6 separate regions of the Homo sapiens genome follow, and all the other regions are linked to region 1. Evidence: promoter capture Hi-C in 16 types of primary human blood cells and fetal thymus (Javierre and others, 2016). All regions are on one chromosome and are shown on one strand. The core of a region is centred on a gene start or on the middle of the fragment in contact, and the rest is flanking DNA. Distances in the headings are between cores, read along the strand shown. Region 1 holds the start of SDHAF1 (succinate dehydrogenase complex assembly factor 1). Region 2 overlaps HAUS5-DT (HAUS5 divergent transcript). Region 3 has its middle 12 kb from the start of ZBTB32. Region 4 overlaps KMT2B (lysine methyltransferase 2B). Region 5 holds the start of KMT2B (lysine methyltransferase 2B). Region 6 holds the start of ETV2 (ETS variant transcription factor 2).

Region 1 (4,440 bases), core at 395-2,894:
GCAAAATGCATCCCTCCACAGAATGTCTAGGGCAGGCCCATATGGGGACACCGGAGGGAGTATATCTGTGATCTATGGGGTTCATCTCCCCTCTCCTGCCCCAGGGCCTTGTCGTTCACTGTAGCTGAGGCTGGACCCTTCAGCCAGGTTTGAGAAATTTCCAGGTCTGAGACCCTCACTACTGCCTCAGGGGCTCCGAGCCAGTTCTCAGCTCCACCATTTCCTCTTCCACACAAAGATGTTAAATCACTTGCCCTCCATTAGGGAGCCAACTGGGGTATCTTTGGGGGTTAAGCCAGGATGAGCCCCCTCCACAGATCTGCCCAGGGGAGAAAACTATGCCGCTTCAATCAATGTGCCAGTCTACAGGGCTCCGGAAGGAGTCAGATCCCCACACCTATCACCTCCCAGATGGTCCCTTCCAGGTGTCTGTGTGCGTGTGTGTGTGGTGGCAGGGGGGCTGGGGGTGTTTCAAAAATCCTGAAATATATAAAAGCTTTAAGACCACCAACAGGGAAGTAGACATATCCCCAATTTTATTCCCTTTGTCCAACATTCCGAGAGGGAAGGGGCAAATGAGTCAATGTTGCCCCTCAAAACCATCAAGTAGGGGCCTTTGGGGGTCTTCAGTTGATCAACCAGGGTGATAGACCCCTACCCCTTCCTCATGGTCCTGGCTTGTCACAATTAATGGGGGAAAGTTTTCCAGAAGGGGATTCCGGGCTTCTCACCGCTCATCAGGGCACCTTCCCAAAACGTTCTCAGCAAAAAGTCTGCACTTCTCAGAGTTAAATACAGGAGAGGGGAGACTCCTTGAGGAGCCAGAAGTGGGTATGTTCTCAGGGGTCAAGAGAAGGGCGTCTCAGGCTCTCCCTGTCCACCGGGGGTCGTCCTGGCTCCCCGTACCTTCGGGCAAGTAGCTCTTGGCTTGACACTGTCCAGCCCGCCAGCGTCCCAGGCCGCCCCAAGCCCTCATGGGGGAGGAGCACCGACCTGTCTCCAAGCATCGGAAAAGGCGGGCCTCCCTTGCCGTCCATCACGGGGCTCTCTAGGCCCCCTGCGTCGCCAAGGAGGAGTCTCTGACATCCCCAATTCGTCAAGCTAGTCTCTTAAGACCTCTCACCTTAGGCGGGTTCCCCAGTCCCCCCATGCAGTCAGGCGAGCCTCCTGGCTCCACCACGCCATCGAGCGAGTTCGGCTCTTCGCCTGTCACCGTCCGTCGGGGCGGGTCTCCGGTGCCCCCGTGCTGTCGTGGGGGTTCCTTGGACTGTCGCCGTCGTCAGGCTGGCAACCCACGCCGCCAGGCTCCCCGGTCGGGGCCCGCGGGCGTACGAAGGCGCCCATGGCGGTGGCGTGGCCCGAGCGTAGCAGCTGCAGCTGGCGCCGCCCGCGGCGGTACAGGTACTCGATGCGCAGCACGTCGGACCGCGGCAGGCCCGCATGCTGCCGGAACTCTGCCCGCACTCGCGCCTCGGCGCCCGGCTTCCCACGCCCGGCGCGCAGCAGATCGCGGTACAGGCTCAGAACCTGCCTCTGCAGCCGGCTGTGCCGGCTCATGACCGCGGCTAAGCAGAGACGCTCAGCGAACGACCTGCGAACCGCGGAGCCGCCACACAGCCAGCAAAGGCCAAAGGGCAAAGCCACAGCCACTTCCGCCCAGCGCTTCCCTTGGCCTCCAACTCCCGCCTCCCGCCATCCGGCGCTGCCGCGTCTGACTGGCTGTCGTTGCAGTTACGTAACAGCCGGCTGGGAGAAGTGGGCGGAGTCGCTGGTCGCGGCCTCCCACGTAGGGGACGTGTGTTCTTGAGGGGACAGCAGTTCTGGGGATCCTGGCACCGCCTGGAGGGCGTTATGTGTTCGGACTCCTAGGTCTTGGGTTGGAGGGAACAGAGGGTCCTCACCTAACTCCTGCATTCTGGGAGAAGAGGAAGCTAGGGGTTTTTTTGTGTGTGACGGGGTCTCGCTGTCGCCCAGGCTGGAGTGCAGTGGCGCGATCTTGGCTCACTGCAGCCTCGAACTCCTGGGCCCAAGCGATCCTCCCACCTCAACTCCCCTAGTAGCTGGAACCACAGACGCGCGCAACCGCGCCCGCTATTTATTTATTTATTTATTTATTTATTTATTTATTTATTATTATTATTATTTGCAGAGATGGGTCTCCCTATGTTGCCCAGAATGGCTCGAACTCCTGGGCTCAAACGATTCTCAGCCTCCCAAAGTGTTGGGATTCCAGGCGTGAGCCACCGCGCCCGGCTACCGGTTCGGACTTTGGGTCCCAAGGGCACGGGGCACTGGGAGAGACGCCGGGCACAAGCGTGCTTTTGCCGTCAGTTACTGATTCAAACCATCTTGGGAAGCTCCGTGCGTTCCCTCGTCCGGGGCAGGTCTGTGTCTGGGGTCCCAGCCCTGGGCACGTGCAGAGGGACGAGACCCCGTAGGGAAATGGCTCTCGGCCGGTTGGACAGGCTTCTCGGGCCAGGGGAAGACAAGCAGAGAGAGTGTGGGCGCCAAGCCCCCAGAGGCAGCGTGTGGCTCTAGGAGCTGGGTTGGTCGCGCCCTCTGCGGGTGGGAGTCGGGGCAGTGGACAGCGGTGTTTGGGTCCTTACCGACTGTTAAAGCCCGGAGTCCGGGACACCCTGAACAGTCGACTAGACTGCAACCCCGTTGTCCTCCCAGGAGCTTTAGGTGGTAGGCCGCAATGCCGTTGTTGTCCCCGCGGGCCGCCTGGAGGTGTCCTCGTAGCGCTAGGGAGGCCCGCAAGGACACAGCATCCTCGGGCCCCACCAGCACCGGAGCTTGGGGGACCCCTCCACCCAGCGCGCAACCGCGGCTCTGCACACTTGGGCCGGCAACCAGCTGGGGGGTCCATTCCCCTTCAGAGAGGAGAAGCTGGTCAGGGGCGGGGATTAGGCTTGGAGTCTTGGAGTCAGGGGAGAATCACAAACCACTGTGAATCCTGCCTGGCAGGTGTATGTATCTATCAAAAATACATGTCCTAGAACGGTGGCTCACACCTGTAATTCCAGCACTTTTGGAGGCCGAGGCGGGCGGACCACCTGAGGTCGGGAGATCGACACCAGCCTGATCCACATGGTGAAACTTCTGCCTCTAGGTTCAAGTGATTCTCCCTACCTCAGCCTCCCCAGTAGCTGGAATTACAGGTATGTGCCAGCACACTGGGCTAATTTTTGTATTTTTAGTAGAGGCGGGGTTTCACCATATTGGTGAAACTACAGCCTTGATCTCCTGGGATCAAGCAATCCTCTCGCCTCAACATGTCCAGTGGTTAGGATTACGTGAACATCCCACCACACCCGGCTAATTCTTCTTTTATTGTTTTTTGTAGAGACAGAGTCTCGCTGTGTTGCCCAGGCTTCACTCTGGAATTTTAAATATTTATTTTTTGTTTTGTTTTTAGAGACAGGGTCTTGCTATGTGGCCCAGATTGGTCTTGAACTCCGGCCTCATCCTCCCAAGTAGCTGGGATAATAGGGATGAGCCACCATGCTGGCTTGTACTCTGGAATTTAAACATCTATCTTTTTCCTGTCAAATGACCCTTAATCTCCAAGACAACTATGTCAATCAGCCTAGGGGGACTTTCTTTACTTTCCAGTGGACTCAAGGAGCTGCAAAACCTCAAAGGGAATACTATTGCCTCCTGCCCAGGGCCTGTCAATGGTTTTCTGGTTACAGTCTCTCAGTTTGTCTTTGGGGAACTGGCCCACTCTTATTCTAGGGGATTTCCTGGGTAATATCCCTGCCCTCTGGCTCTGGCTACAGCTCTGTTACATGCCCAGGCCTGGCTACTTAGAGACAAATCAGAATATCCCATCCCCTGACCCCTGTAATTGTTTAGGGATGGGCAAATGACCTCCACTGGGACAATGAGAATCAGACCCGGGACTTCTGTTGAAACTGTGAAGAAAGAAGTGCTGTCTCCCCACTGGGACTGCTAGACTGTACATCATCAACCTGGAGCAGTGGGAGATCACTTCCCGCAGGCAGAGGGGTAGTTTGAAAATGAGGCTGTGGCAGTCTCAGATACCCATTCTCCATTTCTTTCCTAGAATTAGCATTTTTTTTTTTGATATGGAATCTCGCTCTGTCACCCAGGCTGGAGTGCAGTGGCGTGATCTCCATTCACTGCAACCTCTGCCTCCCGGGTTCAAGCGATTCTCCTGCCTCGGCCTTCTGAGTAGCTGGGACTACAGGGATGCGCCACCACATCCGGCTAATTTTTGTATTTTTAGTAGAGACGAGTTTTCGCCATATTGGCCAGGCTAGTCTAGAACTCCTGACCTCAAGTGATCCGCCTGCTTCGGCCTCCCAAAGTACTGGGATTACAGGTGTGAGCCACCATGCCTGGCCTTTTTTCTTTGTCTTTTCCTTTTTTTTTTTTTTTTTTGAGATAGGGTCTTGCTCTGTTGCCCAGGCTGGA
Region 2 (4,777 bases), core at 832-3,331, 390 kb after region 1:
TGTCTCCTTGTTTTGGAGACATGTCACCATTTGTCCTTTTCTTGGTTCCTTTCTCATGGTATCTGTTCTGTTGGCCTTGGTGGGAGGTACTGGTGCCTTCCTGCTTTCTTAGATCCTGAAGGAGCAGAGCCCCTGTGGCCTCTTGGTCTTCTTCTGTCAGCATCTCTCTCCCTTTGCTTTATCTGAAATCTCTTTTCTGTTTTTCTGGATAATTTCAGGATGCTTTTTGGAACCCATCCACCATCTGAGAGATAATAAGAAGCTTCTCTAGGACTTGTGATTTTGGTTTCAGCAGCTCCTTCCACGTTTGAGAAGAGTCTTCTCATTTCTTACTCATAGAACATCCCATCAGACATTTCTCCTGATCCACATAGTAATTCAGGGATCCAGGCTTCTTCCATAAGGTGATTCAACCATCTTCTATGGGCTCAGAGTCTTTTGAATCCAGGCAGAAGAGAGAATAAGGAACTCGCACCTGCTTCTTGAAAGTCTTCACCCTAAAGTGACATACATCACTTCTGCTCTCAGTCCATTGAACATAACTTGTCTTATGGCTTCAACTAGCTGCAAGGGCCTCTGGGAAATGTAGTCCTGGTCTAGGCAGTCAATAAACATCCTGCTGGCTCTGCCACAGAAGGCCTTTCTAAGATGTTCTTTGAGCTGAGACGTGAGAGCCAAAGTGTGAGAGCTACTTGAAAACTGTGAAAATGGAGTTCCCAAAGTGGGAACAGCAAGTGGAAAGACCCTGATGCTGGAATGTGCTCAAAGGAACAGTAAGAAATGAGCTTCTGGCTGGGCGTGATGGCTCATGCCTGTAATCCCAGCACTTTGGGAGGCTGAGGCAGGTGGATCACCTGAGGTTAGGAGTTTGAGACTAGCCTGACCAACATGGAGAAACCCCGTCTCTACTAAAAATACAAAAAAATCAGCCGGGTGTGGTGGTGCATGCCTGTAATCTCAGCTACTTGGGAGGCTGGGGCAGGAGAATCGCTTGAACCCAGGGGGCAGAGGTTGTTGTGAGCTGAGATCGTGCCATTGCACTCCAGCCTGGGCAACAAAAGTGAAACTCCGTCTCAAAAAAAAAAAAAAAAAGAACTTTTATTTTGTGAGCTACTGAAATGGTGGGGTTTATTTGTTATAGCAGCTAGCATGACTCTAAATAATATACCTTGTAGACATCATTGCCCACTAGCTCAGTGTATCTCAAACTACTTGTAACTATGGAGAAGGATCATTTGTTTGATGTTTCCAACCTGTCATGGACCAATCCTTTTGGTCTCTACCCTGTTCAACAAGAAAATCCATTGATCCTATACTTGGATGTCATGGATATGTCAAATTGCTGTGTTTCTAAACACTTGCTGGCAATTTCCGTACTTATCTGGTGGCACACCATTGCAGACACCAGCTCGGTTGGGGAGACCCTAACCCACTGGTGCTAGAGGAATTAAACACACACACACAGAAATATAGAGGTGTGAAGTGGGAAATCAGGGGTCTCACAGCCTTCAGAGCTGAGAGCCCCGAACAGAGATTTACCCACATATTTAGTAACAGCAAACCAGTCATTAGCATTGTTTCTATAGATATTAAATTAAAAGTATCCCTTATGGGAAACGAAGGGATGGGCCGAATTAAAGGAATAGGTTGGGCTAGTTAACTGCAGCAGGAACACGTCCTTAAGACACACATCGCTCATGCTATTGTTTGTGGCTTAAGAATGCCTTTAAGTGGTTTTCCACTCTGGGCGGGCCAGGTGTTCCTTGCCCTCATTCCCGTAAACCCACAACCTTCCAGCTTGGGCGTTAGGGCCATTATGAACATGTCACAGTGCTGTGGAGATTTTGTTTGTGGCCAGTCTTGGGGTCAGTTTATGGCCATATTTTGGGGGGCTTGCTCCCAACACCATAATAGTTGCTGGACCAGTCCTGGCACCACTTTAGCTTCTTATTCTGTTTTATTTTTCTCTATAGCATTTACCATTCCCTGTAATTATCTTGTTTATTTTTGGGTATACTTGTTTATAGTTTTCTTTCCCACTAGAATGTAAGCTCCATCAGAGAAGAAGTTGGCCTTACTTCTCTTGCTCCGTTGTGTTCCTCGTTCCCAAGACAATGCCTGGGACACAGTAGGTGCTCAGAAAGTATTTGTTAAATAATGAGTATTTGTTAAATAAAAATCATGGCTGGGAACAGTGGCTCACGCCTATAATCCCAGCACTTTGGGAGGCCAAGGCAGACAGATTGGTTGAGCTCAGGAGTTTGAGACCAGTCTGGGCAGCATGGCAAAACCCTGTCTCTACAAAAAATATAAAAATTTGCTGGGCATGGTGGCATGCACCTGTAGTCCTAGCTACTCAGGAGGCTGAGGCATGAGAATCACTTGAACCTGGGAGCCAGAAGTTGCAGTGAGCTGAGATTGTGCCACTGCATTCCAGTCTGGGTGACATAGTGTGACCCTGTCTCAAAAAAAAATTTAATAAAATGAAATAAAAATAACAAGGAGGGTGGGGGGAAGGAGGCAATCCATATCTGTTACAGAGGCTCTCTACAATCAGAACCTGACCAGAACTCTAACCAGTTTGTTAACAGCCATTGAGATCCCCTCAAGAGCTGTGGTTTTTTGATAGACCATGGTAGCTCAGATTAGATGTCAACTGAAGAATCATGAGGTTTTGATATGGTTTGGCTGTCCCCACCCAAATCTCATCTTGAATTGTAGTTCCCCAAATCCCCATGTGTTGTGGGAGGGACCTAGTGGGAGGTAATCGAATCATGGGGGTGGTTACCCCCATGCTGCTGTTCTTGAGATAGTGAGTTCTCACGAGATCTGATGGTTTTATAAGGGGCTTTTCCCTCTTTGCTTGGCACTTCTCCTTCCTGCTGCCATCTGAGGAAGGACGTTTTTGCTTTCTTTTCCACCATGATTTTAAGTTCCCTGAGGCCTCCCCAACCCTGCGGAACTGTGAGTCAATTAAACCTCTTTCCTTTATAAATTACCCAGTCTTGGGCAGTTCTTTTCAGCAGCGTGAGAACAGACTAATACAGGTTTACAAATTTGGAAAGGAGAGCTTTATTTCTCATAAAGAGTTGCAGCCTGCAGCCGGGCCATCTCACAGGCCGAGAAGTGTAGCCTCCGGTAGAAGCTGAGAGCAGGCACCTCCAGTAAGGGAAGGATAAGGTCAGAGTTAACGCTGAATGGCTTGGCTCAGTATACATATTCAACAGGTTATAGGAGGAGCTATGAATATTCATGAAGGGAAGGTACAGCACATGTGTAGTAACATCCCATATTCACTTTTTTTTTTTTTTTTTTTTTTTTTTGAGATGGAGTCTTACTCTGTCACCCAGGCTGTAGTGTAGTGGTGCGATCTCAGCTCACTGCAACCTCTCTTTCCCAGGGTTCAAGCAATTCTCCTGCCTCAGCCTCATGAGTAGCTGGGATTACAGGCACCCATCACCATGCCTGGCTAATTTTTTTATTTTTAGTAGAGACAGGGTTTCACCATGTTGGCCAGGCTGGTCTCAAACTCCTGACCTCAGGTGATCCGCCCACCTTGGCCTCCCAAAGTGCTGGGATTACAGGCGTGAGCCACCGTGCCAGGCCCCATGTTCACTTTGGAGTGGAGACTTAACACTTAAATGTATTACAATTAGGCCCTATACATCAAAAGGTGATGCAGAGGACACAAAGGCCCTTTGTGTGCAGCCTCTGTAGACTGGCCAGAGCCACACCCCGTGGTTAGGTGGCCTCTGATCAGGAAGGAATGCTGGTCAGTTGTTATGTTGAAACCACAAAAGGGAGGAGCAGCCATGTATTTCAGGCCATTGGTTGAAATTAGCAGTGAATGAGTCTTTCAATAGGGCTGGTTTCTGTTTAACCCTTAGGGAAGAAAGCTTCATGGCAGTCAGCAAGGGAGGAGGTAGAATGAGGTGTGCCCGACCACCCGTTCAGTCACGGCTAGGAACTCAGCTTTTAGTGTTTCTCTGTAGGCCCCTTGGCCAAGACAGTGTTCATTCAGCCAGTTGGCGGACTTAGGATTTTATTTTTGTCACGTGCGTCCGTGTGAAGAGACCATCAAACAGGCTTTGTGTGAGCAGTAAAAGCTTTTTAATCACCTGGGTGCAGGCGGACTGAGTCCGAAAAAGGAGTCAGCAAAGGGAGATAGGAGTGAGGCAGTTTTATAGGATTTGGGTAGGTAGTGGAAAATTACAGTTAAAGGGGGTTGTTCTCTTGCAGGCAGGGGCGGGGGTCACAAGGTGCTCGGTGGGGAGCTCCGGAGACTTATTGTCCAGGAGAAGGAATGTCACAAGGTAATGTCATCAGTTAAGGCAGGAGCTGGCCATTTTCACTTGTTTTTGTGGTTCTTCAGTTGCCTCAGGCCATCTGGATGTATACATGCAGGCTTGGGCTCAGACACCTGACAATTTTTATTTCTCACAGGTCTCTTATTTACAGCCTCCTGACAAGGATTCTTTGCTTGGCCAAACTTTAGTCAGGCTTCTGAACCTGGGCCGGGCCCAGTGGCTCATGCCTGTAATCCCAGGACTTTGGGAGGCTGAGGCAGGTGGATCACCTGATCTCAGGAGTTTGAGACCAGCCTGGCCAACATGGAGAACCCCAGCTCTACTAAAAATATAAAAATTAGCCGGGCGGCCAGGCGCGGTGGCTCACGCCTGTAATTCCTACACTTTGGGAGGCCAAGGCAGGTGGATCACCTGGGGTCAGGAGTTTTAAGACCAGCCTGGCCAACATGATGAAATCCCATCTCTACTAA
Region 3 (4,464 bases), core at 1,106-3,605, 300 kb after region 1:
GGAGATCAAGACCATCCTGGCTAACACGCTGAAACCCCGTCTCTACTAAAAACACAAAAAATTAGCTGGGCGTGGTGGCGGGTGCCTGTAGTCCCAGCTACTTGGGAGGCTGAGGCAGGAGAATTGCGTGAACCCAGGAGGTGGAGCTTGCAGTGAGCTGAGATCGCACCATTGCACTCCAGCCTGGGACACAGAGCGAGACTCCATCTCAAAAAAAAAAAAAAAAAAAAGTTAACTGATGTACCCTGAACCAGAGTTGTTTTTAGACAACAAATATTGCTTGTCTTGACTCTGGGTACAGATATATATATATGTATCTTTTCTTTTTTTTTTTTTTGAGACAGGGCCTTGTTCTGTTGCCCAGGCTCCTGGCCTCAAACAATCCTCACATCTCAGCCTCCCAAAGTGTCCTCAATTTTCTGAATGGATTTTTATGAGAGGAACTTTAATACCAGGGATCCTATTTTGGTCATTTTGTCCAGCAGGGCTGGGAGCAGCTCTTCAAAAAGACCATTTTCTTGTCCCTTTACCTTCCCTGTTTTGCATGATTCTGTTTCCATTTGTAGAGGATCTGAGAAGGCAGCTGATTCTGTGAGAAACAATGATTCTACTTCATGTTTTAAATAGATCTGTTGGGTTAAGTGACAAGTCCCTAGCTAGACTCAAGAAGGCACTGGAGAGCTATGGTCCTGCCACTGTACTCCAGCCTGGGCGACACGGTGCGATTCTCATTTTCTCTCTCTCTCTCTCTCAGACAAAGTCTCCCCCTATTGCCCAGGCTGGAGTCCAGTGGTGCTACCATAGCTCACTGCAGCCTCGAACTCCTGGGCTCAAGTGATCCTCCTGTCTTGGCCTCCCAAAGTGAGGGATTACAGGTGGGATTACAGGTGTGAGTCACTGTGCCTGGCTGAGACCCCGTCTTTTAAAAGAAAGGGGAAGGGGGAGGAGAAGGGGTAGGAAGAAGGAGGAGGAGGAGGAAGAAGGCGGAGGAGGAAAGAGGAGGAGAAAGAGAAAAAAGGAGGAGGGAAGAGGAGGAGGGTGAAGGAAGGAGAAGGAAGAAGGAGGAGAAAGGAAGAGGGATGAAAGAAAAGAGGAGGGAGGAAGAGGAAGAGGGAGGAGGAGGAGGAAGGAAGAGGAGGAGGGAGAAGGAGGAGGGAGGAGGAGGGAGGAGGAGGAGGGAGAAGGAGGAGAGGGTGGCAGTGGAGGTCACTCCCTATAATGTGGAGCATAGCAGCCACCTGCTGGTCACAGCGCAGTAGGAAGAACACAAAGCCCTGGAGTGAGGCAGAGGGGCCCTGGCTCCTCAGTGGCTCTCCAGCGCCCTCTATTGACAAAGCCTAACCTGGCACCAGATGACAAATGGAACTGAGAGGTAATAAATTGATAACCCACAGGTAAGTGATGGGGCCCCTGCTATTAATAAAAACAACAGTAATAATAACGACTACCATGGAATTCTCAGTGCTGTCTGTGTCATTTATCCCGGAATCGCTGGTGAAGGTTGATGGGGAGGGGGGATTGTGGTCCATTTGCCTCCAGGGTCGGCTCACCCTTCCCTAGGCTCAGGCTTAGGGTCTGAGCCTGCTCTGGGCAAGCACCCTCTCCCTCCTCCCAGACCAGACCCTATAGATGGAGCTGACTCCATCCCTGCTCCAAGGGCAGGCGTGTGCCCCGGAATCTGCACTTTCCCCAGCCCCACACGTGATGGCACAGCACAGTGTCAAACCTAGACAATGAAAAACATTCCAGAGGGGGCACCAGGCCCTCTCACCGTTTTTTGCTTTGTTTTGTTTTGTTTTTGTTTTTTGAGATGGAGTCTTGCTCTGCCACCCAGGCTGGAGTGCAGTGGCACGATCTTGGCTCACTACAACATCCACCTCCCAGGTTCAAGTGATTCTTCTATCTCAGCCTCCTGAGTAGCTTGGATTACAGGCACATGCCACCACATCTAGCTAATTTTTGTATTTTTAGTAGAAACAGGGTTTCGCCATGTTAGCCAGGCTGGTCTCGAACTCCTGACCTCAGGTGATCTGCCTGCCTCAGCCTCCCAAAGTGCTGGGATTACAAGTGTGAACCACCATGCCCAGTCATCTTTTTTTTTTTTTTTTTTTTGAGACTGTTATCTGGGCTGACAGAGTCAGTGGTGCCATCTTGGCTCACTTCAGCGACGACTGCCATACTCAAGTGATCCTCCTGCCTAAGCTTCCTGAGCAGCTGTGATGCAGGTGCTTGCCACCATGGCCAGCGATTTTTAAAAATTTTTTTATTGTTTTGTAGAGACAGGGTCTCACTATGTAGCCTAGGCTGGTCTCGAACTCCTCAAGCGTTCCTCCCGCCTTGGCCTCCTAAAGTGCTGGGATTACAGGCGTAAGCCACCGCGCCCCCCCGCCCGGCTAGGTTTTTGTTTTGTCTTTCATTCTTTTATTTTTCTCCTTAGCACTTATTAGCCTCTAACATGTGTTTTTCTTATTGGTTTTATCTATTTTCCCCTCTAGAAGGTAAGCTTTATTTATTTATTTATTAAGCTCTTTTAAATCTGGGAAGAGTTCCTGTAAGCTTTATTATCTGATTCCCAGGAAGCTTGTAGCCATTTTTCTAACACCAGCCAAGGACGCGGGGACCAGAGAGGAGGAATTGGTGGGCGTGGGACACCTGAGGAAAGGGCAGGGGTGTGTGTTTTTACGTTTTAGTTAAAAAAAAAAAAAAAGAACCAACTTGCCCTCATGGAAGGAGTGTAAGCAAAAGTGGATGTAGTCAGAGGCATGTGCCTGGCTTGATTGCTATATAACACAGTTTCTTATTTCCATTCTGTGATCTCAGATGGTGAGAGAGAGAGCTTGGCTCAGTGGAGCAAGAGAGAGAAAGAGATACCTGGAGAGGTGGCAAGGGGCCAAGCCACACGGGCCCTCAGTGCGAGGTGAGGAGGGCGCTGGAGAGCCGTGGAGGGTTAGAGGCTGAGGAGGGATGCAGTCACCTGGGGTGTGGGGGGAACAGCCATCAAATGGCTGCCTGTCCCTCAAGGGGTCCGGGCCCTGACATAGCCCTGACCTCTTTGCTCCCCTCTTACCCACAGGAGCCGGCCTCTGAGTTTGGGGGCTGGGGCGGACAAACCTGTCCTGCAGGCAGGCCCGCCTGGGTGAGGCCACGCTGCTGCCGGTCTGACTGAGCCACACTCTGCAGGTATATGGTAGGATGGAGCCCGAAAGCCAAGTGGCAGATGTGGGTCAGAGATGGCGGCCTACCTACCTGACTGCCCAGAGGTCAGAGGTCAGGTCAAACCCCGGCCTCCCATCTAGCAAGTCCTGGCCTATTATTATTATTATTGAGACGGGGTCTTGCTATTGCCCAGGCTGGAATGCAGTGGCACCATCACAGCTCACTACAGCCCCTACCTCCTGGGTTCAAGCGATCTTCCCACCTCAGCCTCCCGACTAGCGGTTACTACAAGTGCGCACCACTATGGCCAGCTAATTTTTAAATTTTTTGGAGAGATGAGGTCTCACTATGTTGGCCAGGCTGGTCTGGAAATCCTGGCCTCAAGCAATCCTCCTGCCTCAGCTCCCAAAATGCTGGGATTACAGGCGTGAGCCACTGTGCCCAGCCCTGACCTGTCTTACTGAGAGGTGACAGCGTGCTGGCAGTCCTCACAGCCCTCGCTCGCTCTCGGCGCCTCCTTTGCCTGGGCTCCCACTTTGGCAGCACTTGAGGAACCTTCAGCCCGCTGCTGCACTGTGGAAGCCCCTTTCTGGGCTGGCCAAGGCCGGAGCCGGCTCCCTCAGCTTGCGGGGAGGTGTGGAGGGAGAGGCGCAGGCGGGAACCGGGGCTGCGCGCGGTGCTTGCGGGCCAGCGCCGAGTTCCGGGTGGGCGTGGGCCCGGTGGACCCCGCGCTCAGAGCGGCCGGCCGGCCCCGCCGGCCCCGGGCAGTGAGGGGCTTAGCACCTGGGCCAGCAGCTGCTGTGCTCAATTTCTCGCCGGGCCTTAGCTGCCTTCCCGCGGGGCAGGGCTTGGGACCTGCAGACCGCCATGCCTGAGCCTCCCCTCTCCCCGTACCCCGTGGGCTCCTGTGCGGCCTGAGCCTCCCCGACGAGCGCCGCCCCTGCTCCACGGCACCTAGTCCCATCGACCACCCAAGGGCTGAGGAGTGCGGGCGCACGGCGTGGGACTGGCAGGCAGCTCCACCTGCAGCCCCAGTGCGGGATCCACTGGGTGAAGCCAGCTGGGCTCCTGAGTCTGGTGGGGAGGTGGAGAACCTTTATGTCTAGCTCAGGGATTGTAAATACACCAATCGGCACTCTGTATCTAGCTCAAGGTTTGTAAACACACCAATCAGCATCCTGTGTCTAGCTCAGGGTTTGTGAATGCACCAATCGACACTCTGTATCCAGCTACTCTGGTGGGGACTTGGAGAACCTTTGTGTGGACACTCTGTATCTAGCTAATCTAGTGGGGACATGGAGAACCTTT
Region 4 (4,618 bases), core at 184-2,683, 260 kb after region 1:
GGGGCGATTGCTGGATGGGCTGGAGGGGTGGAGGCAGGGCCCTTGTCACCTGCATGCCCACATCCACCCTGAACATGAGGGTGGGGGTGAGATGCTCTGGGAGGGGCTAGGGAGCCCCCAGGCTAGGGGCAAGATGGCAGCGACGGCAGCAGGAGGTGTGAGGGGTCGTGGTGGGCAGCCACGGCCTCAGTTAAGGAACCGACGGCAGCGCTTGGCGCCACAGTTGCAGGGCAGCTTGTTGCTGGCATCCTCGATGGGGAACTTGTAGTCGTAGGTGAGCTCCTCACCACGCAGGATGCGGCGCAGGGCGAAGATAACAATGTGTTTCTGGCCCTCCACGTGGATGACCCGAGAGAAGCAGTTGGGCTCACAGGAGTGGTTGATGAAGCGGGCGGCATTGCCATGCATCGTGGCGTCCACTACATCAAAGTCATCCATGCGGAACATATAGCACCCGATGCCCTGCAGGGATGAGGTGGGGAGATCAGGTGCTCTGTCCCCGCGGACAGGCTCGCTTCACCCACTGTCTTCCCACAGCCACTGGGAGCCCACCTTCCCATCGTAGAACTTCTCCCGCTTGTCAGTCAACACCGAGCGGATGACAATGCCAGAGTACTCGATGACCATCTCCCCCGCGTCGATGTTGCGCTTACAGAACAGGCCTCGCCCGTGGATGGCTGATCTGCAGGGCAGGATGAACAGGGAACTCAGGGGGGAGGGGGACAGAAACCAGACAGTACCCCCTACCCAGTGCACCTGTCCGTCCACCCAAGGGGCATCCTCCCCCCCAACCCCACTCACCTGTAGACACCCACAGCTTCTTTGGACGTCTTCTTAAGGTGACGAAAACGCATGGCCATGGGCAGCTCCAGGCTGGTGGCACGTCTGGTGAGGGACAGCAGTGTCACCCAGGCTGGTGCTCAGAATGACCTCTCTCACCCCTGCTCACTCTCTAAGACCCTTCCAGACCACCACCCGCCCCCCAGCTCACACTCCATACCTGGTTGACCTGAGCTGCACCTCATCCTCTTCCTCATCACAGGTGGCCCCCTCAGGGAGCACCCGGTGCTGGGAGGCCAGGAAGTTGAACATGTCAAAGGTGCACTTCCTGCAGGTGGCAGCAGGGGAAGGAGGAATATACTGTTGAAGACAGAGCTAACAGGGAAATGGGTGGGGTTCATTTTTCTGATGTCAGCTCTAGAAATAACTTTTTTAAATTTTTATTTTAGAGATGGGGTTTTGCCATGTTGCCTACGCTGGTCTCCAACTCCTGGGCTCATGCGATCCTCCTGCCTCGGCCTCCCAAAGTGGCGGGATTACAGGCATGAGCCACGGAGCCTGGCTAACTCTAGAAATAACTCTTCAAGTGACCTAGTGTCTCCTCCCCAGGCCTCAGTTTCCAACCTCTACAGTTAACTCCCACCCTCAAGAGCTCTCATAGGGGCGCCCTGACCCAGGCATCACACCCCAGACCTCTCACCGGAGATAGACCTCTGCCCGAGCAGCCCCATGGGGATTCAGGGGCGGCTCCTCCTGGCCCTCTCCCTGCTGGTGGTAACGGAACTTATAGTGCTGGCAACGCTGGGCTCCGGGGAGCTGCTCGGCCAGGAAGATGACAGCATCATGGTGGATGCCCAGGAGTCTCGCCCCACTCATTCCTGAGGGGAGATGTTGAGGACACACCTGTCATGTGGAGGGCCCATGGTGCCCTCGGGGAGACATCCAGCTCCCTGCCCCCTGTGGGGCCCACTCCTTACCACTAAAGGAGAGATGTCTGAGTCGGGCATGCCCTCGGGCCTCTTGCACTTTCTCGATCAGAGTTCTCCACGCCCCTGGGGAGACAGCAGAGCCAGAGCTGAGTCAGGATGGTGTTTTATGGACACTCTCCCTCCTGCCACTGCACTCCCCCCACTCACCCTCCAAGCTCTCTGCCTCAACGCTGAACCCATCCTCACTGCTGATCTCGAAGCGCAGATGTGGGCCAGTCCGTTTTGGGGCCTGGTTCTCTTTATCATCTGGGGATGGAGGCTCTTCCTCAGAGCTCGAAGCCTCACCTGGTCCCAAGAAGCAGGTTGGAGTGAAGATCACCCTTCCCGGACTCAAAAGCCCCTGAGCCCCGCTGTGCTCCCAGCAGACACCACTCTCTCCACCCCTAGGCGCAGACACAGATACTAGGGTCTAATGGCCCTCCTTCTGCTCCAGTTACCCAGTGAGCCCTGCAGAATGGACATTTCTTCCCCTAAGGAGCCTGCGGCTCCTCTTCTGCAGGACTTCTTGGGTACAAAAGCATTCCACAGAGGCTTGGGGCCTTTTGGCTCTTCAGGACACGCCTATGGCTCACTCAAACCCAGTGTACCATACATCCCATCTACCTGTCATTATTCTGTTTCTCACACAAAATTTAAAATACTGGAGAATTGTATTTTGCACATCTATTTTTTTTAGATGCAGCAAATTTCTGTAACTGTTACAAACATAAAATTATCATTTTTTGAGACAAAGTCTCGTTCTGTCTCCCAGGCTGGAATGCAATGGTGTGATCTCGGCTCACTGCAACCTGTGCCTCTCAGATTCAGGCAATTCTCCTGCCTCAGTCTCCCGAGTAGCTGAGATTACAGGCGCCCACCACCACGCCCGGCTAATTTTTGTATTTTCAGTACAGATGGTGTTTCACCATGTTGGCCAGGCTGACCTCAGGTGATCCGCCCGCCTCGGCCTCCCAAAGTGCTGGGATTACAGGCGTGAGCCACTGTGCCCAGCTACAAATATATTATTATATAGGCTCACATGCACAGAGCCAAGTACACTGTATGTTATGAGCTATTTAGGGGATTTCTCGAGGGTTAATAGATTAAACAGGGCAGACGGGATATGCTGACGTAGTAGATGTGGATGTGAAGAAGGGGGATGGGGGTCGGGACAACGCTGGGCTTGAACACCTGGAAGGATAAAACTGCTGTGGACTGAGACAGCGAAGGCAAAAGAAGAATGGGTTTGGCGTGCAGGTGGAGGGCTCAGTTTGGGACAGGCTGACTTTGAGAGGCCTCTTAGAAACCTCCCCCTGCAACCTGCTGGTGGAGATGGTGGGCAGGCAGCAGGACAGGATGGAGGAGGCCACAGTTCAGGGACAGGGTCTAGGCTGGAGAGAGCAATGTGGAGACAATCAGAACACAGACGGGAGGACAGCCACCAAGCTGGAAGGGAGCCCCTGGGAGTGAGCATACACAGAAGTCAAGGCCAGGGTCCCGGGACACATCTAGCCTGACAGCTGTGAGCAAGGAGGCAGGACCAGAGGTGAGAGCAGGAGCAGCCTTGGAAGCCGGGAAGACAATGCTTCAAGGCGGGAGGGATCCGCTGCACCAAACGCTGCTGCTGCTCAAGCAGGTGTGGGCTGGGGACTGACCACTGGGGGTTGGGGGCACAAAAGCTTGAGTGGAACAGGCTTTAGGAGAGGCAAAACCCACATGGCCACACTCTCCCGATGTCACCTCTCCAGGCCACCCTGCCCCACCTCCCCTGCCCCAAGGGAGACTCTAAAGCAACACTCCTGCCGTGTGACTCCCGTCTTCTCCAGGCCTCAGTGCCCCAGAGTCCACCTCTGTCAACTTCTTCCCTGTGTCCCCCAACCCTCACTTCCAGTTTCCCAAACACAGCAGGACTGACCACAGGACCCTGGCAGGTGCTCTCACTGCTCGGTTTCTCAGTGCCCACTCTAACCTGCCCTTGCTAACATGTCTGTGTCCCGCACCAAAATGTGGTCTGATCCCTGAGGACAGGGACCTCCTAAGGCCACTGCCATATTCTCATGTCATCTCTGAGACATAAGCAGCCTCTGAGTTAAGCACTCTCAATCCACGTCACTCTGCTTCCCAGCTCAGCAACTGAGCTGTGTGTCATGAGAAAATCCAAACATCTGGACAGGATTGGGCCACCACAAAATCCCAGCCTCAGGCTGCTCGACCACCAGCTTACCTGGCCGCAGCCACTCCCCCAGCCACTGCCCTCAGGGACCAACAGAAAACTCCACCACTCCACCGCCAGCTTCAAGGAGTCCATCAGCCAAGCCTCCTCCAGGGGCCTCCACCCCATGTATTACAGTTTCTGCATAAACACCTGCTTTCCCTCCTCTCCTTTACCTCAGAGGTCACCAGTTCAAAACCAGCCACCAGGCCTCTTCCCACTGCCTTTTCCATCCCAGCCTGCCCTTCCCTGCCATCCATGGCTCCGCTGTCTTGGCCCTCACACCAAGCACCTCCACGCTGCTCGCCCACCTCCCGCTCCCGATCCTTAGCTGAACTCTGGCCAAGTGCTTGGGCTGTTTTGCCTTCTTCAACCATGGTCTCAATTCTGGACTTGGACACAACGCCCCACCCTGTGCCACCTGCTCTCACTGGACACCAACGCTAGACTCCACAGGCCTGGCAGTCTCTGTGGCAGCTGAGATGTGACGACTCCCTTCCCTGGGCCTCTGGGACACCACTCTTCTGATCTTCCCACTGTCCCTGACCCTCATCTCGGTGCTAGCTGGGCTGCATTCCCTCTAGATGATCCTAGAACTTCACCTTTGGCTACTCTAGGAAGCTCTCTCTCAGCTCCTGGCAGGCTAGGCTCTGAGGCC
Region 5 (4,347 bases), core at 246-2,745, 280 kb after region 1:
TCTTCATCTGAATGAAAACCCTGAAACTCCTGATTTAGGGGACCGGGGTGGAGGGGAGAAACAGCAGTCAGTGCCAAAGCCCTCGTTCCATCTGAGGTATCGAGGAATATCCCCAGTTCCCACTTAGCATACCCCTGCCTATTTAAAAAGAACGAAAAAGACTCAAAGGTCGCGGGTAGTGGAAGAGAGGGTCTCTCCCTAGGGATGGAGGCGCCAGGTATTTCGAACTCCGATCCCCAGTGCCGGACCACACCAGCACAGCCAAAGCCATGGTTCACTGGCCCAAGAGAGAAGACGACAGGGTCTCCTCAGGAAAGGCAGCAGGCCCCATACTCAGATTCCTTCAGAGTCCAATTCAGACCAAAGTGGGACCTCCACTGACACCCTTTCGGGCCACAATTTATTTCTGCATTAAGTTGGGAACAGGGGCCCGCAAGTGAAGGGGCGGGGAGGGCATCAGATGGCTTTCGTACAGGCTCCACTGCGAGCTCTCAGGTTGTTATTAACCGTCCAGGGCAACGCAACCCACACCTTCCTGCCTGTTCTGAAAGGCTGGGGGAGAAATCCTGAGCTGAGCTCTGACCTGCTAGAGTGCCCAGTCCCGGCCTTCATCCCACTCCTGTTCAACCCGAGCCCCAAGAGGAAGCCCTCCACCACTCTACCTGAGATGCCAAGAGAAACTGGGGCCCTGGAGAAACCAGGAGGTTGCGAGGCCCGGCGGGGCGGCCCACAGGTAAGAGCCCAGACAGCTCCAACCTGTCTGCCAAGGCCACGCTGCCGCTGTCAACCACGACTGGCTGGACATGCAGTCCCCACTGCCTCCTCGCCCAAACCTCCACCGCCCTAGCTTTGCCAGCTGCCGAAAAGGATCGGCCCAAGACACTTCAGCGGGACCGACATCGGGCGCGAGTGCCTGGCTGCAGCCGGGGCTTCTCTACCCACTTCCAGAGGCCCTTTCCCCCGGAAGCTGCATGCAGCCGCCCTCCCTCCGTGCCCCGTCTCTCCGAAGGAACCCTGAGGACCCGGCCTGCCCACGCCGCCCCCGGGACAACCCAGACCCCTGGAAGCCCCGGCCTCCGCCCCACCCGGCGCCGGGGACGCCTCCAACCGCCTCACCTCCTCGTCGGATTCCCCGTCACTGCTCTCCTCCTCCGGCACGCAGCCTCGACTCGGGCCCCAGCCCCGGCCCCGACCCCGTCCCCGGCCCCGCTGGACCCGCGGGCCGGCCCACAGGCGGCGGAGCCGGCGCAGGCCCCGGCGGAGCCCCAGCAAACGGAGCAGGGCCGTGTCCTCCCCGGGCTCGGCTCCGCCCGGCCCCGTCGCGCCACCGCCGCGCCGCAGAGCTACCCGCACTCTTTCGGCCCCGTTGCCCCGTCCGCCGCGGCCCCCGCCCCCGCCGGCGCCCCGCGGCCGGCCCGGGAAGCGGCCCCGCGCGGAGCCAGGCCCGGGGCAACTGCCGCCGCCCGCCGCCGCCGCCATCTTGGCACCGTGAGAGGGGCCGGGGAGGCGGGGGGAGGGGCGGCCCGTGCGCAGGGCCGGGGGGAGGGGAGAGAGCGGGGGCGGGGCGGGGCGGCCGCGGCGCACGACAACAACCAGCGCCGCCGCGGGAGACCGGGGGCCGGGCCGGCCACGCGCAGGGCACCACGGGAGAGGGAGTCCGCGGCCGGCCGGCGCCCTCGGACCGCACCTGGGGAGCACAGACCCCCGCGTCGCGGCCGCAGAGGGGCGAACCGCGGGGGCCTCCGGGAAATGTAGTCCGGACGCCTCGCTTCTTCCGCCGGCAGCCAGGGCGCGAGGGCCGGGACGGCGGGGTTCCCGGCCAGGACCCGGAAAGCGGGTTGCCGGGTCTCCGGGAGGTGTGGTCCTAGCCCCAGGCTCCTCCCATTGTTCTTGGCTAGGCCGGCGGCCCGCGTGGACTACCACTCCCAGGGTGCCGCGGGCTCGGGCCCCGGGACCCCCGAGGCCCTGGGAAATGCAGTTCGCGGCTGCAGGAGGCGTGGGCTGGAGAAGGAGCGGTGGAAAGCATAGTCAGTCTCCGTTCCAGGCGCGACCTGGCGGCGGCTTGGCACGGTGTGGAGGGAAGACGCCGGAGAGGCCGCGGTCTCGGGGTCCGTGTGCTCCCGGAGAGGAGGCGGGTGGCCGAAAGCAGGGTCGGAGCACGCGTTCCTCTCTCTCCCGGGCCGAGCGTTCCCAGATCAGACTCCGCGCGCCGTGGATTGCAGTGGAAGGGGCGAGTGACTTGCGGTCGCACAGCCCCCACCAGTCCAGGACCGGCATGCCGCAAGGTGTGCCCGGACACCGAGTCCTCGGGGCCGGCTGCCTCCTGGGGAGGACGGGGCGCCTCGGGGGTGGAAGAAGTGTCCATCCCGCTGGACAGCGGACGCAGGGCCACCAGGGGCCGCTACAGGACAAGGGGCGTGGGCGGGGGTGTGCACAGACTAAACTCGGCTTTCTAGTCCTGAAGGGAGGGCACAGGAAACTCTTTATTATGGTGATGAGATCGACAATCTCCCCTACTGTTAACCTTCGCTCCTGCACACTTCAGTGTCCTCACTCTGTAGGGCTCGCTGGCCTGGGCTTCTGCGACCCGCGATCGTCCAGGAGAGGGCACTCGGCGCCCTTCCTGGGGCGCTTCTGGGGCGGAATTTGCTAGGCCGCCGTAGCAGCGGTGCCAGGTCAGAAGCCGAGCCGGCCCGCTTTTCGTTCTTTAATTGGACTCTTGGCTAAGACGCTACCGACACCCCGTCAGGTGGTGGAGGAAGAAGGACAACAGGGAGAGGTCGAGGGCCGAGACGGCCTCGAGGAGGAGTAGAGGAAGGTGGAGCGGATGGTCCATCCGGGCGGGAGTTGGCTGGGCGAGTGACCGCGCATGTGCGCCTGCATGGAGGCCAGGCTGGGACAGCCGGCCCCGCACAGGGAGCAGCGGTACGGAGCGGCCCCGTGTGTCCGCAGGTGCTTGGTCATGGCCGAGAAGTCCCGGGAGCGCTGAGGACAAAGGCTACAGGAGAAGGGCTTCTCTCCTAGAGCGGTCGGAAGGGGAGGCCGGTGAAGGAAGGAAGAAGGCGGCGAAAGCTGGCCAAGTTAGGGGTGGATCGGGCCACGGGGCTAGGGGATTGCGCGGGAACCGGGCACACAGGTGGAGACTCAGGAGCGGAGTTGGGAAGAAAGCCGACAGTTCACACAGGGCAGGGCGCCCATACCTGTGTGGACTCGGTAGTGCGTCTCCATCTGATGCTTGAGTGAAAACCTCTTTCCACAGACAGAGCACGCATAGGGCCGAGACCGAGCAGGAGGGGCCGGGGGAGGGTGCGGGCGAGGTGGGCAGCCTGCCTTGTCCTCATGACCCGCACAGGTTGCAAGTGCGCCTGTGGGGACAGAGAAGGCAAAGGAGGGCAGGGCCAGGAATCCCAGCGCCAACTCACTGTACCATTCAGGCAGGAAATCAAGGGCTACAGTGGGGCTGAGGCACGAGTGCCCCCGCCCGACTCACCTGTGTGCCCCTGATCAGACTCTTCCATCTCCCCAGGGCTGAGCTGTGCGGGGCCCTGGGGGAGGGAACCTGGAAGGAACAGTGGGAGGTAGGGGCCCTGCTCAGGCTGGACTCCTCGAGCCCCAGCCCAGAGAAGACACCATGTTACAGGTGTATGCAGGACAGCGAGGGGCTTACCTGGGGTAGGGCTGGAGGAGGCCAACTGGTTCTGGCTCCAGAGCCCTTTGGGGGCATTTAGGGACAGTGGGATCCTGGGATGGGGTGGGGAAGAGTTACAGCCTTGGCTAAACCTGGGAGCCTGGCCCCTTCGTGAAGAGGGGGTATCCCAAGTCCTCCCCCGGGGGCTGGGCTTTGGCGTGCCCTGTGGCAGCAGCTTCTTGTCTCTTCCCCAGCTCAGGAACTGTGCAGTAGAGATGCAGTGCCCTTCCACCCAGCAGGGCTGCCCCTCCTGGGCCATGCCCTCCCAGCCTGGAGGCAGAGCACTAGACCCCGCCACTCACCTCTGTTCCCGCCAGACCTCCTGCCAGGCTCCAGTGGTGGGGGTGCTATGGTAGAAGGGAATGCCATATCTGGGCGGCATCAGCAGGATGCTCCACAGGGCAGGCTGGCCCCCCACCAACCAAGGGGCCTCAGCCCACGAGGGCCTAGGGGTGACGCTGGTTTGCAGGGAGCCTGCTGGGGGAAGGGGGCCAGGGAGCTTGCGCAGACTTTCCTCAGAGCCCCCTGGATTTTCCCTCAACCACGTGAGCACTCCATGCTTCCCATCTGCTCCCCTTTGGCCAACAGGGGCTTGGAGGCGTTTCTCCTTTGACCTGGTCTGTTCCTGCTGAGCCTCCTGCGTTGCTCCTGCCATCTCG
Region 6 (4,620 bases), core at 313-2,812, 350 kb after region 1:
CCCCGGACCACGGAAGAGCCTGAGAGTCGGGCTCTGTGAGGAGTAACGGATCCCGAGTGAGGGGAGCCCAGGTGCCCCCTCAAAAACTCTAGGGTCTAAGCTCTCAACCCTGGCACTTGGGGCCCGGCTGACCCGGATCCAGGTCATGCCACCTTGAGGGCGCAGGTGTTCTCAGTCCTCAAAGATCAGGGAGTCTACACCTCTAGCCCCGGTGCCTCGGGACCCCAGTCCCCACCTCCCACCGCCTCTCCCCACACTCACCCGCCCCCCATGGAACTTCTGGGTGCAGTAACGCGGAGCCCCAGTCCAGCTGTGGGAAGCTTGCCAGGGATGAGCTTGTACCTGAGTTTAGGGAGGACTGTGAGCAATGAAAGAGACCCCTCAACTACCCACTCTCTAGTCTCTACTTGTCAGGGACTGGGAGTTATGGCCCCCCAGCCCGTATTTCAGCACCCCGCGCCCCCTTTTCCTTCACCCTCAGGGGTCAAGCACGCGGCCCCTCCCCACCCAGTCCCAGGAACCTAGGCACGCCCCCCTCCTCCCTTTGCCCTAGGATCCCAGCCTCCCCGCTTCTTCTCCAGCACTTAGGGGTCCCAGCCCGCAGCCACCTTTCCAGCATGTCTCTGCTGTCGCTGTCGGCGTGTCCCCTTGGAGTGCCAGATCAGGGAAACAGAAGCCTAATTTGGCTCCTTCTGCAGGCGATAAGGGGTTAGGGTCAGCAGAGGCCCCACCTGGACACCCTCCCCACACACGTTGTGGCAGCCTCGGCAGCCTACCAAGCCCTGCCAGCTTGTTCCCTGGAGGCACTTCCTGTGGGGATGCCTCATCCCAGTTCCACAGGTCCATGGATGCGATGAAGGCCTTCTGAATGTTCTGGGTCGGGAAAAGTCCAGATGGCAATGGGTGAGCTGGTGACACTTGGAGGCCCTGGAGTCTGGGCCCCAGCCCTAGCTTCCCTCAGAGCCAGGAGTCCAGGCCTCCGCTCCCTCCTTCCCCAGGAGCCTAAAATCTTGGTCCTGGGAGTGAGGGACCCCAGCTCTCTTCCTCTGTTAGACCCAGGAGTCCAGGCCCCCGGCTTCTTGGGAGTCTAGTCCCCCAGGTCCTTCCTAACCCAGACACCCAGGCATCTAGTCCTCAGTTCATCGCTCACCTCTGGCGGGTTCCTCTGCCCCCAGCCGGGGGTCTCAGCCCCATTTCATACCATGCACCCCCTCCCCCAAGGGCCTGGGCAAGGGGGAATTTTCCGAGACGTCAGAGCAGGGGTCGCAGCCAGGCTCAAGTTGCAGAGGCAGGGGCGGGGCCGAGCCTCGACCCCAGCCTCGGGGATAGGTGCTGGCCTCTGGGGCTGCCCTGCTGCAGGGGTGGCGTGGGCTTGGAGCGAGGCTTGGGGAACAGCGGGCTGGGTGAGGGCAGGGCGGAGGCTGGGAGAAGTTTACGGGGTGATGGGGGCGGGGCGGGGGGCTTGGTGAACGGGCTGTCTGCCTCAGGGTCTCGATCCTGCGACATGGGGGGAGTGAGGGGAGAGGGTCTGGGGTCAGCTGGGCTAAGCTGGGCTTATCTGCAACAGGAAGAGGGATTTCCGGCCAGATTCCCCCACCCGCCCCCAGCGTCAGCTGACGTCACAATCGGCAGAGTAACTGCGGGGGCGTGGAGCAGGAGTGAAGGCCCACCCAATCCTCCACCAGGCCCAGTAGGGAGGGCGTCCTGGGGCTGCTTCCCAGGAGTGCCAATCATAGCAATATTGACATCAACAATTTCAACAATAACAATAGTAGCAATAACGGCCAACATTAAATGAGGGCTCATTGTGTGAAACCAACTGTGCCATACCCCTTCATTGAATCCTTCTATGAGGCAAGTACAATACATACTCTCATTTGATGAAGGGGGAAGGTAAGGCAGGCATCCTCCCACTGCTCTCCTTCTCCAGACCCCATGCCCTTCCGCGCTGTAATAGTTTAGGACAATTGGGGAAACTGGAGTATGAACTGAATATGAAATATCATAGAATTCTTTTCTTAGATTTGATAATGGTATTCAGGAGGAAAGATATCATTTAGAAAATGAACTCAGAGATGAAATGTTATAATGTCTGTAACTTGTGGTTGGGCGCGGTGATTCACGCCTGTAATCCCAGCACTTTGGGAGGCTGAGGCGGGTGGATCATCTGAGGTCAGGAGTTCTAGATCAGCCTGTCCAACATGGTGAAACCCTGTCTCTACTAAAAATACAAAAAATTAGCCAGGCGTGGTGGCGGGTGCTTGTAATCCCAGCTACTCGGGAGGCTGAGGCAGGAGAATTGCTTGAACCAGGGAGATGGAGGTTGCAGTGAGCCAAGATCATGCCATTGCACTCCAGCCTGGGGAACAAGAGCGAAACTTCATCTCAAAAAAAGAAACAACAAAAAAAAAGTCTGTAACTTGCTCAAATAATTCAGCAAAAAACAACAAAAAACCACAGCTATACATGTAACATATACATACATACATGAAATATTTAGGACATACCTAAACTATAAAATTGTTCACGTAAAATTCAATAACTGGGTGTCCTATATATATATAAAATATTTTTCGAGATGGAGTCTCACTCTGTCGCCCAGGCTGGAGTGCAGTGGTGCGATCTCAGCTCACTGCAACCTCTGCCTCCCGGGTTCAAGCAATTCTGGTGCCTCAGCCTTCCAAGTAGCTGGGATTACAGGCAAGCACCACCATGCCCGGCTAATTTTTTGCATTTTTAGTAGAGATGGGGTTTTGCCATGTTGGCCAGGCTGGTCTCGAACTCCTGACCTCAAGTGATCCACTTGCCTCGGTCTCCCAAAGTGCTGGGATTACAGGCGTGAGCCACCATGCCTAGGCTAATTTTTGCATTTTTAGTAGAGATGGGGTTTTGCCATGTTGGCCAGGCTGGTCTCAAACTCCTGGCCTCAAGCTATCCACCTGCCTTAGCCTTAGTGCTGTAATTAGAAGCATGAGCCACCACCGTGCCCAGCCATCCTGCTGTATTTTAATAAGTATGTAATATTTACCATTAAAAATAACTTTTGCATATCGGCATCTTCCAGTCCCCAGCCCAGCCTCTTGATCATTAACTACTTGCCGTTCTGGAGAGCGGGTGGCATTGCTCCTCCTTCCATTTTACAGTAAAGTAAACCGGGGGTCCCATGGAGTGGGAGTGGGACTGGGATTGGAATCAGTGTGGGGTAAGCCACAGAGCCCTGGAGCATCACTGGTCCCTCTATCCGTCCAGCGCGGAGGCCTGAAGGGAGTCCTGGCTTCCCATCCTTGAAGCTGGCCTCTTGTCTGTCTCTCCATGTCTCTCTGCCCTCTTTCTTCAGGTTGGCATATCTAAAGCTGGGTCTCTGTTGCCACGGGCCTGACTCCAGTGAGGCTTTGTCACCTGGTCTCTTCTGACATCTCTGTCCCTCCCCATCTGTCTTTGAGTGTTCCTATCTCATCTCCTTGTCCGTCTCCATCTGTCTCTTGGTTTTCTCCCCGTCCCCCTTCCCACTGCACAGTCTCTGATGGTTCTCATCTCTGCCTCTGAGCCTCCTGCTCACAGCGCCATCTCTACCTCTGCTTGCCACATTCTATGTGTGTGTGTCTCTTCTTGTTCTCAGGAAGACTTGTGTGCATTAAAAAAAAAGATAAACATTTAGGGGGTACAAGTGCAGATTCCTTACTGGATATATGTCAGTATATCCAGTATACTGGCCTGGGCCTTTAGTGCACCCGAATGGTGAGCAACGTACCCAACTGGTAACTGTTCAGCTTCCCCCACGCTCCCACCTTTTGGAGTCTGCAGTGCCTGTTACCCCACTCTGCATGTCCACGTGTACCTGCTGTTCTGCTCCCACTTGGAAGTGAGAATCACATGCATTTGGAAGCGTCCTTTCTGGAGCCATCCTCTCTTCCCATCTCCTCCCGTGACCCTATGCTTGCTGTCAGTACAAGGGGGGTCAGGGGTAGAAAAGACTAGTGATGGGGGGAAGGGGCTTTGAGGATCCTGGGGCTGGGTGGTCTGGCCCAGGTGGCAGGGGGCTAAAGGGCACTTCCTGCCAGGGAGGCTCTCACCCTCTGACCAGACTGGAAAATGTGACGTCAGAGAGGGGGCAGTAAGGCGGGGAAGACAGGAACAGGAGAAATTCGACACCTCTCCTGGGGGACCTCGGTCCCTGAGAGGCCTTGGTATTGTCCATCCCCCGACTTATGCCCCACAAAGTCCTGCCCAACCTGCTCCCTCCTAATGGAGGGTTCCGATGGCTGTGTCCCTGGGAGACCCTCCACTCCTCCCCATACTCAAACCTGCCATCTCCCTCCTCTGGCCCAGTCCCTGCCCCAGCCTTCTAGACTTCCAGCCACAGTGGTGGTCGCAGGGCGTTTTTTTTTTTTTTTTTTTGAGACAGAATCTCACTCTGTCACTAAGGCTGGAGTGCAGTGGCGCGATCTCAGCTCACTGCAACCTCCTTTTACCAGGTTCAAGCGATTCTCCTGCCTCAGCCCTCCCAAGTAGCTGGGACTACATGTGCCCGCCACCACGCCCAACTAATTTTTGTATTTTTCAGTAGGCACAGGGTTTCACTATGTTGGCCAGGCTGGTCTCGAACTCGTGACCTCAAGT

What was found. The method cuts DNA at HindIII sites, captures the fragments that hold promoters and counts their contacts. A CHiCAGO score of 5 or more calls a contact.
Region 2: a fragment that was not itself captured here is called in contact with the fragment with the promoter of SDHAF1 in region 1 in 3 of 17 cell types (neutrophils, erythroblasts and activated CD4 T cells); the score reaches 7.0 in neutrophils.
Region 3: a contact is called between a fragment that was not itself captured here and the fragment with the promoter of SDHAF1 in region 1, in 13 of 17 cell types (erythroblasts, fetal thymus, activated CD4 T cells and 10 more). The highest score is 11.0, in erythroblasts.
Region 4: a contact is called between a fragment that was not itself captured here and the fragment with the promoter of SDHAF1 in region 1, in 2 of 17 cell types (neutrophils and fetal thymus). The highest score is 6.4, in neutrophils.
Region 5: the fragment with the promoter of KMT2B here is called in contact with the fragment with the promoter of SDHAF1 in region 1 in 7 of 17 cell types (M2 macrophages, activated CD4 T cells, M1 macrophages and 4 more); the score reaches 7.2 in M2 macrophages.
Region 6: the fragment with the promoter of ETV2 here is called in contact with the fragment with the promoter of SDHAF1 in region 1 in 8 of 17 cell types (neutrophils, erythroblasts, naive B cells and 5 more); the score reaches 7.2 in neutrophils.

The regions. Positions count from the first base shown.
Region 1 is chr19:35,992,392-35,996,831 of GRCh38, reverse strand. It overlaps SDHAF1 (succinate dehydrogenase complex assembly factor 1), which reads right to left and starts at 1,644. Exons shown (of 1, transcript NM_001042631.3): 1 at 520-1,644. The coding sequence starts at 1,557. The coding sequence ends at 1,210. RefSeq lists silencers at 1,188-1,307, 1,338-1,397 and enhancers at 1,458-1,537, 1,798-1,847, 2,182-2,681. The HindIII fragment of the contact is 4,511 bases long and covers 499-4,440 here.
Region 2 is chr19:35,604,245-35,609,021 of GRCh38, reverse strand. It overlaps HAUS5-DT (HAUS5 divergent transcript), which reads left to right. Exons shown (of 2, transcript NR_186318.1): 2 at 219-633. Among named protein-coding and RNA genes, the nearest start is that of HAUS5-DT, 6.0 kb to the left of the region's middle. The HindIII fragment of the contact is 3,634 bases long and covers 265-3,898 here.
Region 3 is chr19:35,690,777-35,695,240 of GRCh38, reverse strand. No RefSeq gene overlaps it. Among named protein-coding and RNA genes, the nearest start is that of ZBTB32, 12 kb to the left of the region's middle. The HindIII fragment of the contact is 301 bases long and covers 2,205-2,505 here.
Region 4 is chr19:35,734,126-35,738,743 of GRCh38, reverse strand. It overlaps KMT2B (lysine methyltransferase 2B), which reads right to left. Exons shown (of 37, transcript NM_014727.3): 31 at 1,917-2,054; 32 at 1,758-1,832; 33 at 1,481-1,658; 34 at 1,001-1,108; 35 at 802-885; 36 at 553-682; 37 at 1-462. The coding sequence ends at 187. Among named protein-coding and RNA genes, the nearest start is that of IGFLR1, 6.0 kb to the left of the region's middle. The HindIII fragment of the contact is 3,993 bases long and covers 1-3,429 here.
Region 5 is chr19:35,715,151-35,719,497 of GRCh38, reverse strand. KMT2B (lysine methyltransferase 2B) reads right to left here and starts at 1,495. Exons shown (of 37, transcript NM_014727.3): 1 at 1,117-1,495; 2 at 1-29. The coding sequence starts at 1,479. It overlaps ZBTB32 (zinc finger and BTB domain containing 32), which reads right to left. Exons shown (of 7, transcript NM_014383.3): 3 at 3,991-4,347; 4 at 3,668-3,741; 5 at 3,491-3,559; 6 at 3,201-3,365; 7 at 2,460-3,020. The coding sequence ends at 2,746. RefSeq lists silencers at 1,061-1,110, 1,161-1,240, 1,281-1,350, 1,371-1,420, 1,501-1,980 and enhancers at 706-1,263, 2,551-2,830, 2,383-2,942. The HindIII fragment of the contact is 14,363 bases long and covers 1-4,347 here.
Region 6 is chr19:35,638,687-35,643,306 of GRCh38, reverse strand. It overlaps ETV2 (ETS variant transcription factor 2), which reads right to left and starts at 1,562. Exons shown (of 7, transcript NM_014209.4): 1 at 1,151-1,562; 2 at 777-873; 3 at 609-692; 4 at 262-342; 5 at 1-33. The coding sequence starts at 846. RefSeq lists a silencer at 1-37 and an enhancer at 691-1,406. The HindIII fragment of the contact is 4,460 bases long and covers 323-4,620 here.